Regions from separate parts of the Homo sapiens genome. Here regions 2 and 3 are each linked to region 1. Evidence: promoter capture Hi-C in human tissues and cell types (Jung and others, 2019). All regions are on one chromosome and are shown on one strand. Each heading gives the region's core, a stretch centred on a gene start or on the middle of the fragment in contact. The rest is flanking DNA. Distances are from core to core; before and after follow the strand shown. Region 1 holds the start of SCGB3A1 (secretoglobin family 3A member 1). Region 2 overlaps GFPT2 (glutamine-fructose-6-phosphate transaminase 2). Region 3 overlaps RASGEF1C (RasGEF domain family member 1C).

Region 1 (3,473 bases), core at 566-3,065:
CAGAAACTGCAGGGAAAACAAGCCCAACAGCGGATTTCCTGAAGCCCTCATTCCTCCCCCATTCCGAGGAAGAAATCTACAAGTATAGAGGGAAAAAATAAAAACTTTCAAATTTTAGCAACAAATGGCTTTGGTGCGTTTGCATTCTCGCCAGTCTTCAAGGAGTAGATAATTTTTATGCTTCATAAACAGTTACAGAGCACAACAGGAAGAAAGACCTGCCAGTTTTGTTTCCAAATCCGGTTTACCTCTGATACTGGCCCCATCTCTGTCACCTTGCACTGCTGGCTCTATGCCACCTGCAGACTCTCGCGGCCTCTCTCTCCCTCTCTCACGCAGCACCCCTCACAAAATCTGGGACTTGGCACTCTCGGTCCCCCACAGGGATCAGCATTTGGATGAGAAAATACCAGGCTCGAGCTGCTCTTAACCACGTTTATTGAGAGGGGCCGGGGGAAGGGGATGGACGGTCCTCCCCGCGGCGGGGTTTTCAGCCCTCGCGGGTGGGCAGCGTCTTGTCCTCAGGTGTAGATGCTCCAGTCTCGGCTCAGCCAAACACTGTCAGGGCCCCCTGGAAAGCAGAAGCCGAGCTTGAGTGCCCCCAGCCCTGCCACCAAGAACTCAGGCGGGGGCGCGGCAGCGGCCGGCTCTGTGGGGAGCGGGAGCGGGGCGGTTCCGCTGGCGTCTCCGGGGGACGCGCACCCGCGCGGGGCCATCTCCGCCTTCCCCGCCCCTGCAGCTCGGATGCGCCCCACCCAGTTCCCACCCGGAGACCCGGGCTTCTCCCAGGGACAGGGCTTGGAGGGGCAGGACGGGAAACAGCCCTGACGTAGGGCCGGGACACCTCTGGTGCAGTTTTGAGGCTGGCCGGGAAGGGATGCCCGCGCAGGAAGGGCACCCGGGGTGCCCACTTTACCAGCAGGGCCTTCAGGGCCTTCACGGCCCCCACGGCCTGGGGACCCAGCTCAGCCACACACTTCTGGGAGCCCTCTATGAGGTGGTTCACGGGGATGCCCAGGCTGCTCAGCAGGAGCTTCAGCGGGTTGAGGGTGCCGAGGGGGTTGGCCAGGGTCCCGGCCCCGGCCTCCGCCGCCGACTCCAGCGCAGCGACAGGCTGGGCCACAGGCTTGGCCGAGCCCACTAAGAAAGCAGCAGCTGCAAGCGAACAGGGAGGGGTCACCGCCTGCGCGCCGGGGTCCCCAGAAGGCAGGTCCAGGACGCGCCCCCGCGGGAGGCGCCCAGGAACCGTCGCGCCCTGCCCGGCTCCCCGACCGCCCCTCCCTCCTGCGCCGAGGCCTGCCAGGTGCGAGCCCCCGGGACACAGGCGGGTCTGGGGAGGCGGCCCCGCCAGGAGACGCTGCAGGGTCACCGGAGTGGCCTGAGGGTGGCGGAAGGACCGGTGAACTCTGTGCAGGGTCCGGGACAGGCCCCCAAGGGAGGGGACACTCGCGCTGCGCCTTGCAGGATGAGGAGCCGGTCTCCAGACGGGGGGCAGACGGGTGTCCCCAGGCCAGGGGCGGCCTCCATCCCGGCACGAGGCTGGAGACAGCCCTGAGAGGGGGAGGCCGCGGGCTGCAGGCGCGGGGCCCCGGGGTGGCGGAGCCCTCTGGGCGCCGGGCGAGGCTGGAAGGACCTGGGATCCACGATCGGCGCAGGCAGCGGCGGGGGCGCAGCGGGCGCCGAGGCCTCAGGCCCCACCGTGCGCGCCAGGAGCCCGGGGCGCTCACCGGAGCTGCAGGACAGGGCCACGCAGAGCCCCAGGAGGGCGGCGAGCTTCATGGCGCGGGGGCTCGGGGCGCGCGGGGAACCTGCGGCTGCCCGGGCAAGGCCACGAGGCTTCTTATACCCGGTCCTCGCCCCTCCAGCGCCGGCCTCGCCCGCGCTCCTGAGAAAGCCCTGCCCGCTCCGCTCACGGCCGTGCCCTGGCCAACTTCCTGCTGCGGCCGGCGGGCCCTGGGAAGCCCGTGCCCCCTTCCCTGCCCGGGCCTCGAGGACTTCCTCTTGGCAGGCGCTGGGGCCCTCTGAGAGCAGGCAGGCCCGGCCTTTGTCTCCGCGAGGCCCACCCCGGCCCGCACCTTCGCTTTGCGGTCTGACCCCACGCGCCCCCCTGCAGGGCTGGGCCCGGGTGAGGGGAGCTTCCCTCGCGCCAGGGCAGGGGCGGGGGCGGCGCAGTTCCTGGCTCCCTGGTCCCTGCCTCTGATCCCAGACCGTGGCAACGTCGGGCACTGGGGGTCCTCGTGGGCGCCTTCTGCGCCTGGGGAGGTGGAGGCGCCAGGGACGATCAGGCCTCACTCCCGGCCGCCTCCCCGGCCGGGCCACAGGCAGCCACAGTGCAAACAGAAGTGGGGCGTTTTTCTGTCTTCGAAACTAGCCTCGACGCCAGTGGATGGGCCTGGTTTGTTCCTGAGTTTCTCTAAATGTCCTCACTCGTCTGTCACCTGCAGAAGTATGACAGATGGAGAGCAAAGCACATTTTGAAAACTTTTGCAAATGATACATAAACTAATTTGCTTTTAGTCCTTCTTCTTTCCTCTATTTTTTGACCCCAGGCATTGAGCACTGAGTGACTCACGTTTTGCTGCGTGGCTGCTCTCAGCTAGGTTGGTGCAAAGTCTCTCTTTTCTTTTGTAAAGTGTAGCTGGCACGCGTGGGAAACAGGCTCCCGGGTGGGAGGACCTGACTCTTCAGGCAGTGTCCTGGAATTCCTTCCCTATGGCTGACAGCACGTCTTAGCCCTCAGCCACCCCGAGCTACTGCGGCCTCCTCCGCACCTGCAGACACTTGTGCCTTTGCCAACTGTTGTGGCCAGGCACACGCATTCACACTGTTTCTGTTCACTTACACTTTTCCTTGACTATTTTGTTTGGGGGATTTTTGCATTATAAATCTGGAGTTTGGTTGTGTTTTGTTGGTCATCATGGAAGTAATTTTAATGGGAAATACGTTTTCTTTTTTAAAAACAGTTTGAAGTTAATTACTTTTTTGGTGGTGGTAAAGACACTGTCTTGCCGTGTTGCCCAGGCTGGTCTCGAACTCCTGAGCTCAAGCAATCCTCCCACCTCAGACTCCCAAGTAGCTGGGACTAGAGGTGTGAGCCACCACACTCAGCGGATTTTGATTTTGTTTTTTGTTTGTTTGTTTTTTGAGACAGTCTCACTCTGTCGCCCAGGCTGGAGTGTAGTGAGGTGATCTTGGTTCACTGCAGCCTCCACCTCCCAGGCTCAAGCAATTCTCCCACCTCAGCCTCCCAAGCAGGTGGGGCTATAGGTGTGCACCACTATGTCCAGCTAATTTTGTTTATTTTTTGTAGAGACAAAGTCTCACTGTGTTGCCCAGACTGGTCTTGAACTCTTAGCCTCAAGTGATACTCTTGCCTCAGCCTCCCAAAGTGCTGGGATTACAGGTGTGAGCCACCACGCCTGGCTTGATTTATTTTTATTTTTTCTAGAGATGGGGTCTCGCTACATTGACCA
Region 2 (3,874 bases), core at 1,193-3,692, 280 kb before region 1:
CAGCCTAGCATTGTCTTTCAAATGGGGGTGGTGGGGAGGAGATGGGAGAGGATGGCAGCCCAGCTGGGCCACGGTTAATGCCCTCGTCTTGGTGGCCAGTGCAGCCTCAGCTGGAGCACTGTCCCCGTCACCTGGGCTGAGCATCTGCTCCGTGCATGGCATGCTGACAGCGAGGAAAGGGCAAGTCCGAGATGCAGGACCCTGCACGGCTCTCTGCCCACCCTCTGGGCAGCCCTGTGGCCCTGGCACCCTGTCCCTGCCCCATCAGCTTTCTCTTTCCTGGCGTGGATCTTTAATGCTGCAGGGGGCAAATGGCCTGTCACCAATTTTTGAAAAAGCAAGGCCTTCGAAGTTAATTCCTGCAGGATCTCAAACTCCCCTTGGAAGTTTGAGGGGTAACAAGGAAACTCTGCGGAGAACCCACCCCTCAATTTTGGTGGAAAAAAGCGAAGGCCCCATGGACTCAGGTCTGATTCGGGTCCCCTACGTCATCTTGAGTGAGATACTTAAGCTTTCAGAGGCTTTGTTTCCTCCTGAATGAGGGTGAATAGCAACCGCCAACCTCTCAGAAGCAGCTCATGAGGTCTGAGTGAGCTGTTCCAAGTGGACCCTGGCAGTGCCTGGACAGCCGGAGGGGCACACCCCAGGCGCCCTGTCCCTTTCTCCTCAGTAGATTGGGAGATCCCTGGGGGCAGGCACCTGCCTCACCCATCTCTGTGTGCCCAGGGCTAGAAACCTGGTGGAGAGCTGGTGCTCAGCGCAGGCTCACAGGACTGGCCAAGGGGTCCTTAGGCCCGGCCCTCCCCAAGCCCAACGCCCTGCCCTCCTTCCCGCTGGCTCCTCAGGGTCTCCTGTGCCTGTCCTCCGTGGGGGTGGGGGCTGGGGGTGGGGGCTCACCAGGGCTCCTTCCAGGCAGGTGGCATAGTTGTAGCCCCGCCCCATCACCAGCAGCGATCTCTGCGTGTAGAGCTCCAGGGCCAAGTCGTGGATCTTCTCCTCCAGAGACAGCACTTCCTTGATCAGCTCTGGGCCATGCACGGAGCAGAGGGAGAAAACCAGTCAGGCCGACTTTAAAGCAATATTCATGAAGACAAATGCTGGGGTTTAAGAGGAGCTTTTGAAACCGCATCACTTAGCACACTTTGCTTCCTCGCATTCGTTTCAAACGTAGATTACAGGAAATAACTTGGGCTCCTGGCCAGGATTCTGTTAGGATGGGGATTCGTGTTGTGTGAACACTTTCTTGAGCACCAACAAGGTAGGAAGTACCATTTCTCACTCCGTTTTGCAGGTAAGACAACTGAGGCTCAGAGAGGCAAAAATCACCCACTGGAGACAGAGCTGACACCACCAGTTAACACCCCTCTTTCCTGCTGTGTCTCAAGACAAGGCCCCTGTAAGTGGGACCACCGGTTCTCAAACCCTTTGGTCTCAGGACTCCTTTACACTCTTGAAAATTATTGCAAGTCCCTCAAATTATTGCACATCCCCAAGAGCCTTTGTTTTTGAGTTAAATCTGTCAACATTTACCAGATTAGAAAATAACACTGAGGACCAGGCGTGGTGGCTCACGCCTGTAATCGCCGCACTTTGGGAGGCCGAGGCGGGTGGATCATGAGGTCAGGAGATCGAGACCATCCTGGCTAACATGGTAAAACCCCGTCTCTACTAAAAATACAAAAAATTAGCCGGGCGTGGTTGGGTGCGGTGGCTCACGCCTGTAATCCCAGCACTTTGGAAGGCTGGGGCAGGCGGATCACGAGGTCAGGAGATCGAGACCATCCTGGCTAACATGGTGAGACCTGGTATCTACTAAAAATACAAAAAATTAGCCGGGCATGGTGGCGGGCGCCTGTAGTCCCAGCTACTCGGGAGGCTGAGGCAGGAGAGTGGCGTGAACCTGGGAGGCGGAGCTTGCAGTGAGCTGAGATGGCACCACGGCACTCCAGCCTGGGCAACAGAGCGAGACTCCATCTCGAAAAAAAAAAAAGAAGAAAAAGAAAGAAAGAAACTAACAATGAGAAATTTAAAAATATTCACTTTAAAATAACAACACTAAATCTATTACATTACTTCATTTCCAACAAGAATTAGTGAGAAGAATGGCACTGCTTTTTGTTCTTGCAAATCTTTTTAGTGTCTGCCTTTTTAATAAAAGACTGTTGACTCTAATATCTGCTTTCACATTCAATCTGTGGTGATAAGCTCTTTTGGTTGAAGTATAAAAATAAAATTCAGCCTACAAATACAGATTTGTAGTTGGAAAAGCGAGGAGTATTTAAATTATTTTACAAATAATTGTGAATATTGTTCTTTGACACCACAGTACATCAAACTTGAGAAACAGTAGGTTCTTGAAAGGGTAGGTGCCAATATAGAATCTGAAATCCTATCAATAAACTTTTTCTACTTTGTTAGGTTAAAATTTATTTTTCTGTCTTGTGCTTTTAAATGGATCATTTACAAGTGCATAACTCTGTGACATCGTGAACTGGCCACAAAGGTATGTAAATCTTCTTAAAATGGACACTTTTATTATAAAATGTTCTTTAAAAATCACCTTGTTGAAGTCACCTTGATCTCATCAGAGAAGACTTTTTTTTTTTTTTGAGACAGAGTCTCACTCTGTCACCCAACCTGGGGTGCAGTGGCACGATCTCGGCTCACTGTAACCTCGGCCACCCGGGTTCAAGTGATTCTCCTGCCTCAGCCTCCTGAGTAGCTGGGATTACAGGTGCCTGCCACTGCACCCAGCTAAATTTTTTAAATATTTTTAGTAGAGATGGGGTTTCACCATCTTGGATAGGCTGGTCTTGAACTCCTGACCTCATGATCCACCCACCTCGGCCTCCCAAAGTGCTGGGATTACAGGCATCAGCCACCGTGCCCGGCCCTAGAGAAGTCTTTAAATGTTAGGAACTGGTCAAGCTCATGGTAACAGAGGTGTTTTCTAACACTCAAAAGTTTTGCCTGGGAGCTTAAAGTTTATCATTGGCAACAAATACCATGGGTTGCTTCTACTGATGCGTCAGCTGATTTTTCATTTTGAGAAAATGTCTAACAAACACCAAAATCAGCTTGCTACTCAATGGGATGGCTGCTTCTCTTGAGACAAGCATCACACTTCAGTGTAGAGCAGAAAGGCTTTTTCTCTTTTTCCAGACGGAGTTTTGCTCTTGTTGCCCAGACTGGAGTGCAACGGCGTGATCTCAGCTCATTGCAACCTCTGCTTCCCAGGTTCAAGTGATTCTCCTGACTCAGCCTCCCAAGTAGCTGGGATTAAAGGCGCACACCACCACACCCAGCTATTTTTAGTAGAGATGGGGTTTCACTGCGTTGGTCAGGCTGGTCTCGAACTCCTGACCTCAGGTGATCCGCTCGCCTTGGCCTCCCAAAGTGCTGGGATTACAGGCATGAGCCACCACGCCTGGCCCCAGTAGAAAGGCGCTACGTGTACTCCCCATTTCATCATAAAGGATATTACAAAGAGTTGCAATTTACAGACTAATAATTTTTACCACCTCATCAAGGCCATTCCTTTTTTTTTTTTGAGATGGAGTATCACTCTGTCACCCAGGCTGGAGTGCAGTGGTGCGATCTCGGCTCACTGCAAACTCTGCCTCCCAGGTTCACGCCATTCTTCTGCCTCAGCCCCCCGAGTAGCTGGGACTACAGGTGCCCACCACCACGCCCGGCTAATTTTTTGTATTTTTAGTAGAGACGGGGTTTCACCATGTTAGCCAGGATGGTCTCGATCTCCTGACCTCATGATCTGCCTGCCTCGACCTCCCAAAGTGCTAGGATGACAGGCATGAGCCACCGTGCCCAGCCTTTTCTTTTTGAGATGAAGTCTCGCTCTTGTCGCCCAGGCTGG
Region 3 (3,848 bases), core at 673-3,172, 390 kb before region 1:
CCTCCCAAAGCACAAGAAAATGGTGCACTTCATAACAACAACAGGAGAGGGCGCTCTTACACTAAGAAACCTACTACGGTTCCCAAGCCCCCAGCTCCTGCCTGCAGCCATCTGTTACCACCAGTCCAGGCAAATTAAGACATCTCTAAGTTAACAGATAATATCCATACAAAGCCAGTATAAAGAGCCGACACTAATCCTTCCCACAAACCCCCAATTTACAAAGGGAAAAACCACACGCAACACCTCAACTTGAATTACCTAATGCTATGGTCTGGAAGTTTACGTCCCCCAAAATTTATAATGGAAACGTAGTCCCCAGTGTGATGGCATTTGGGGGCGGGGGCCTTTGTGACGAGATTAGGTCTCGAGGGCAGAGCCCTCATCAATGAGATTAGTGCCCTTAGAAAAGAGGATCCAGAGAGCTCCCTTGTCCCTTCCTCCATGTGAGGGCGTGAGGAGAGGAGCCATCTGCGAACCAGGATGCGGCCCTCACCAAATACCTTGATCTTGTACCTCCAGCCTCCAGAACTGTGAGAAATCGTTCTGTTGTTTGTAAACTAACCCAGTTTCTGATACAGATGAACAGATGAAGACACACTAAAAATTCAGACACATGAAGAAAATCCCTACATTATACATTCAAAAACTCAACAGAAATGGACCCAAAAAAAGGTAAATGTGAAATTAGAGTTGCCTGAACTCATGAAAAAAAATGAGGAAAAGACCATCATCTCAGAAATGAAGACTGAATTAGAAAATCTCTTAGGGAGAACAGATTTGACTAAAAGCTTAATAGTGTTCATTAAGGAAATTAATGAAAACAACCATAAAACAAAAATAAAATTCATAGAGAAAGCAATCTAGAATACAGATGAAAAACAGATCTAACACAAACATATTATTGGCATCTCTGAAGAAAAAAGGTAAAATAATGGTACATAATATTTAACACTATAATCTAAGAAAATGTTTTAGAAATAAAAGAAGACTTAAATATGCATATTCAAAGAGTCCCCCACGTACCTAAGATCATTTCCAAGAGAATGCCTAGTAAAATGATTAAACTTTAAAAATAAAGAAAAAAAATTCTTTGGAGCTCCAGAAAAACAATCAAGTCACTTACAAAGGAAAGAAAGGCATGTTTATATCAGACATCTTGTCAACAATGTACAAGCAATACAACCCATAACAACATTTTTAAAAATTTAGGGACAGAAAGTAAGAGGCAAGGATTTTATAACCTGCCAATCTATCCTTCAAGTAGCAAGAGTATAGAAAGCAAGCAAGCAGGAAATAACAGTACTCACAAGTCTTTCTTTTTTTTTTTTTTTTGAGACGGAGTCTCGCTGTCGCCCAGGCTGGAGTGCAGTGGCACAATCTCGGCTCACTGCAAGCTCCGCCTCCCGGGTTCACGCCATTCTCCTGCCTCAGCCTCCCGACTAGCTGGGATTACAGGTGCCCGCCACCACGCCGGGCTAATTTTTTGTATTTTTAGTAGAGACGGGGTTTCACCGTGTTAGCCAGGATGGTCTCGATCTCCTGACCTCGTGATGCACCCGCCTCGGCCTCCCAAAGTGCTGGGATGACAGGTGTGAGCCACCGCGCCTGGCCAGTACTCACAAGTCTTTCTTAAGGAACCAACAGAAGCTAAGCTTTGTCCAGTCAAAGGGTGACTGGGAAAACTTTGGCAAAAATAAATATTAGTAATCAGAATCCAACATCCAACAGGCAGTTTCTATGGTGCTCACCGGCATGAGCTCTACCTCTTGGTGTTCATACATTTGGGACTGGGTGGGGCTTTTGACTTTCCTCTGACCAACAGACTATGGCAAAGATGATAGGATATCACTACTGGGATTATGTTACGTTGTTATATCATGTATGTCACGTTATACTATGTTATGTTTTGTTATGTTATGACTCTCTAGGGACTCTTTGCTGGCTTGATAGAGTAAGCAGTCATGCTGGGGAAGCCCATGTGACAAAGACCTGTGGGTAGTCCCGAGGAACTGGGGGTGACCCTAACAAGTTGAGGTTGGCCTCCAGCCAACATCCAGCCAAAATTTTAAGCTCTAAATATAACTACAAAGAACTAAATACTGCCAACAACCACATGAGTGGAGAAGCAAATCCTTCCCTAGCTGAGTCTCTACATGAGAACCTAGTGCTGGCCACCAGCAGTACTCAGCTAAGCCATGCCCAGGCTCTTGATTCACAGAAATGATGAGCTAATAAGCCATGCGTTGCTTTAAGCCACTAGGTCAATGATAACTTAGTACACAGCAATAGATAACTAATACAATGATATTGAAACATACTACAGGCTGGGCGCGGTGGCTCACGCCTGTAATCCCAGCACTTTGGGAAGCCAAGGTGGGAGGATCACTTGAGGCCAGGAGTTCGAGACCAGCCTGGCCAACATGATGAAACCCCATCTCTACCAAAAATATAACTTAACCGGGCATGGTGGTGCACGCCTGTAATCCCAGCCACTTGGGAGGCTGAGGCAGGAGAGTCGCTTGAACCTGGGAGGCAGAGGTTGGAGTGAGCCGAGATCATGCCACTGCACTCTAGCCTGGGCGACAGAGTGAGACTCTGTCTCAAAAAACAAACAAACAAACAACAACAACAACAACAACAAAGTGAAATCTGGGGGAAGACAAAAGTTATACATAGCTTTTTGACTGTGTGGGGGTCAGCATCCCTAACCTTCTCATTGTTCAAGGGCCAACTGTAATTGCTAAACTATATTCCATCGTACGGATATATATCTTGTTTATTTATTCACCAGTTGATGAACAACTGCGTTGTCTCTACTTTTCTGGCCATTATAAGCAATGCTGTTATGAGCATTTGTGTACAAGTCTTTGTGTGGACATTTCATTGTTTTCATTTCTCTTAGATTCCTGGGAGTGGGACTGTTGGGTCATATGGTATTTTTATGTTTAAATTTTAAAGAAACTGCCAAACTATTTTCTACATCATGTCCAAGTGGGACTTATTTCAGAAATGCAAAGATGGCCTAGTGTTAATATTCATACGTTTTGTGTCTGTTTACCTCAGCCTAGTCCCAGACCTGATATTGGGAAATCCATCACATGACTCATTATGCTACTAGTAATCAGGAGAAATATCAGATCATTATCTACATACATGGCTCTAACAAAGGTCAACACCAATCCTGATTTTTAAAACTGCCAATAAAATAGGAGTCAATGGATATTCCTCTATCTATCTATCTATCTATCTATCTATCTATCTATCTATCTCATCTATCTATCTCTTCCCATCCTAAAGTCAGCATCTTTCTTAATAGGGGAAGTATTAGAGGCCTTTTTACTAAGGTCAGGAACAAGGTAAGGAGGCCCACCACATCCAATATTTAATACTGAATTGGAGGTATTCAGCCAATTTAATTAGATAAAAGAAAGCATAAAAATCAGTAGAGAAGCAGTAAAGCTATTTGAATTTGTAGATGACAGAATGACTAACAGAATCAAAGATATGACTAACAACAGGCCGGTAATGGTGGCTCATGCCTGTAATCCCAGCACTTTGGGAGGCTGAGATGGCAGATCATCTGAAGTCAGGAGTTCGAGATCAGCCTGGCCAAGATGGCAAAACCCCGTCTCTACTAAAAATACAAAAATTAGCCTGACGTGGTGGCAGGCACCTGTAATCTTAGCTACCTGGGAAGCTAAGGCACGAGAATCACTTGAACCTGGAAGGTGGAGGTTGTGGTGAGCAGAGATCACGCTACTGCATTCCAGCCTGGGTGACAGAGCGAGACTCCGTCTCAAAATAAATAAATAAATAAATAAAAACAAAAAAAAAGACTAACAATA

Evidence for each region. The method cuts DNA at HindIII sites, captures the fragments that hold promoters and counts their contacts. A contact is called where the count stands out against the background at its distance.
Region 2: a fragment that was not itself captured here is called in contact with the fragment with the promoter of SCGB3A1 in region 1 in 1 of the 25 tissues and cell types used here (mesendoderm cells).
Region 3: a fragment that was not itself captured here is called in contact with the fragment with the promoter of SCGB3A1 in region 1 in 1 of the 25 tissues and cell types used here (H1 embryonic stem cells).

Annotation. Positions count from the first base shown.
Region 1 is chr5:180,589,684-180,593,156 of GRCh38, forward strand. SCGB3A1 (secretoglobin family 3A member 1) reads right to left here and starts at 1,816. Exons shown (of 3, transcript NM_052863.3): 1 at 1,728-1,816; 2 at 917-1,155; 3 at 422-571. The coding sequence starts at 1,779. The coding sequence ends at 548. RefSeq lists enhancers at 8-677, 678-1,347, 1,348-2,017. The HindIII fragment of the contact is 36,128 bases long and covers 1-3,473 here.
Region 2 is chr5:180,306,279-180,310,152 of GRCh38, forward strand. GFPT2 (glutamine-fructose-6-phosphate transaminase 2) reads right to left here. Exons shown (of 19, transcript NM_005110.4): 16 at 898-1,025. Among named protein-coding and RNA genes, the nearest start is that of MAPK9, 16 kb to the left of the region's middle. RefSeq lists enhancers at 1-147, 148-661. The HindIII fragment of the contact is 6,492 bases long and covers 1-3,874 here.
Region 3 is chr5:180,201,388-180,205,235 of GRCh38, forward strand. All of the region lies in intron 1 of RASGEF1C (RasGEF domain family member 1C), which reads right to left. Among named protein-coding and RNA genes, the nearest start is that of RASGEF1C, 5.9 kb to the right of the region's middle. The HindIII fragment of the contact is 5,165 bases long and covers 1-3,848 here.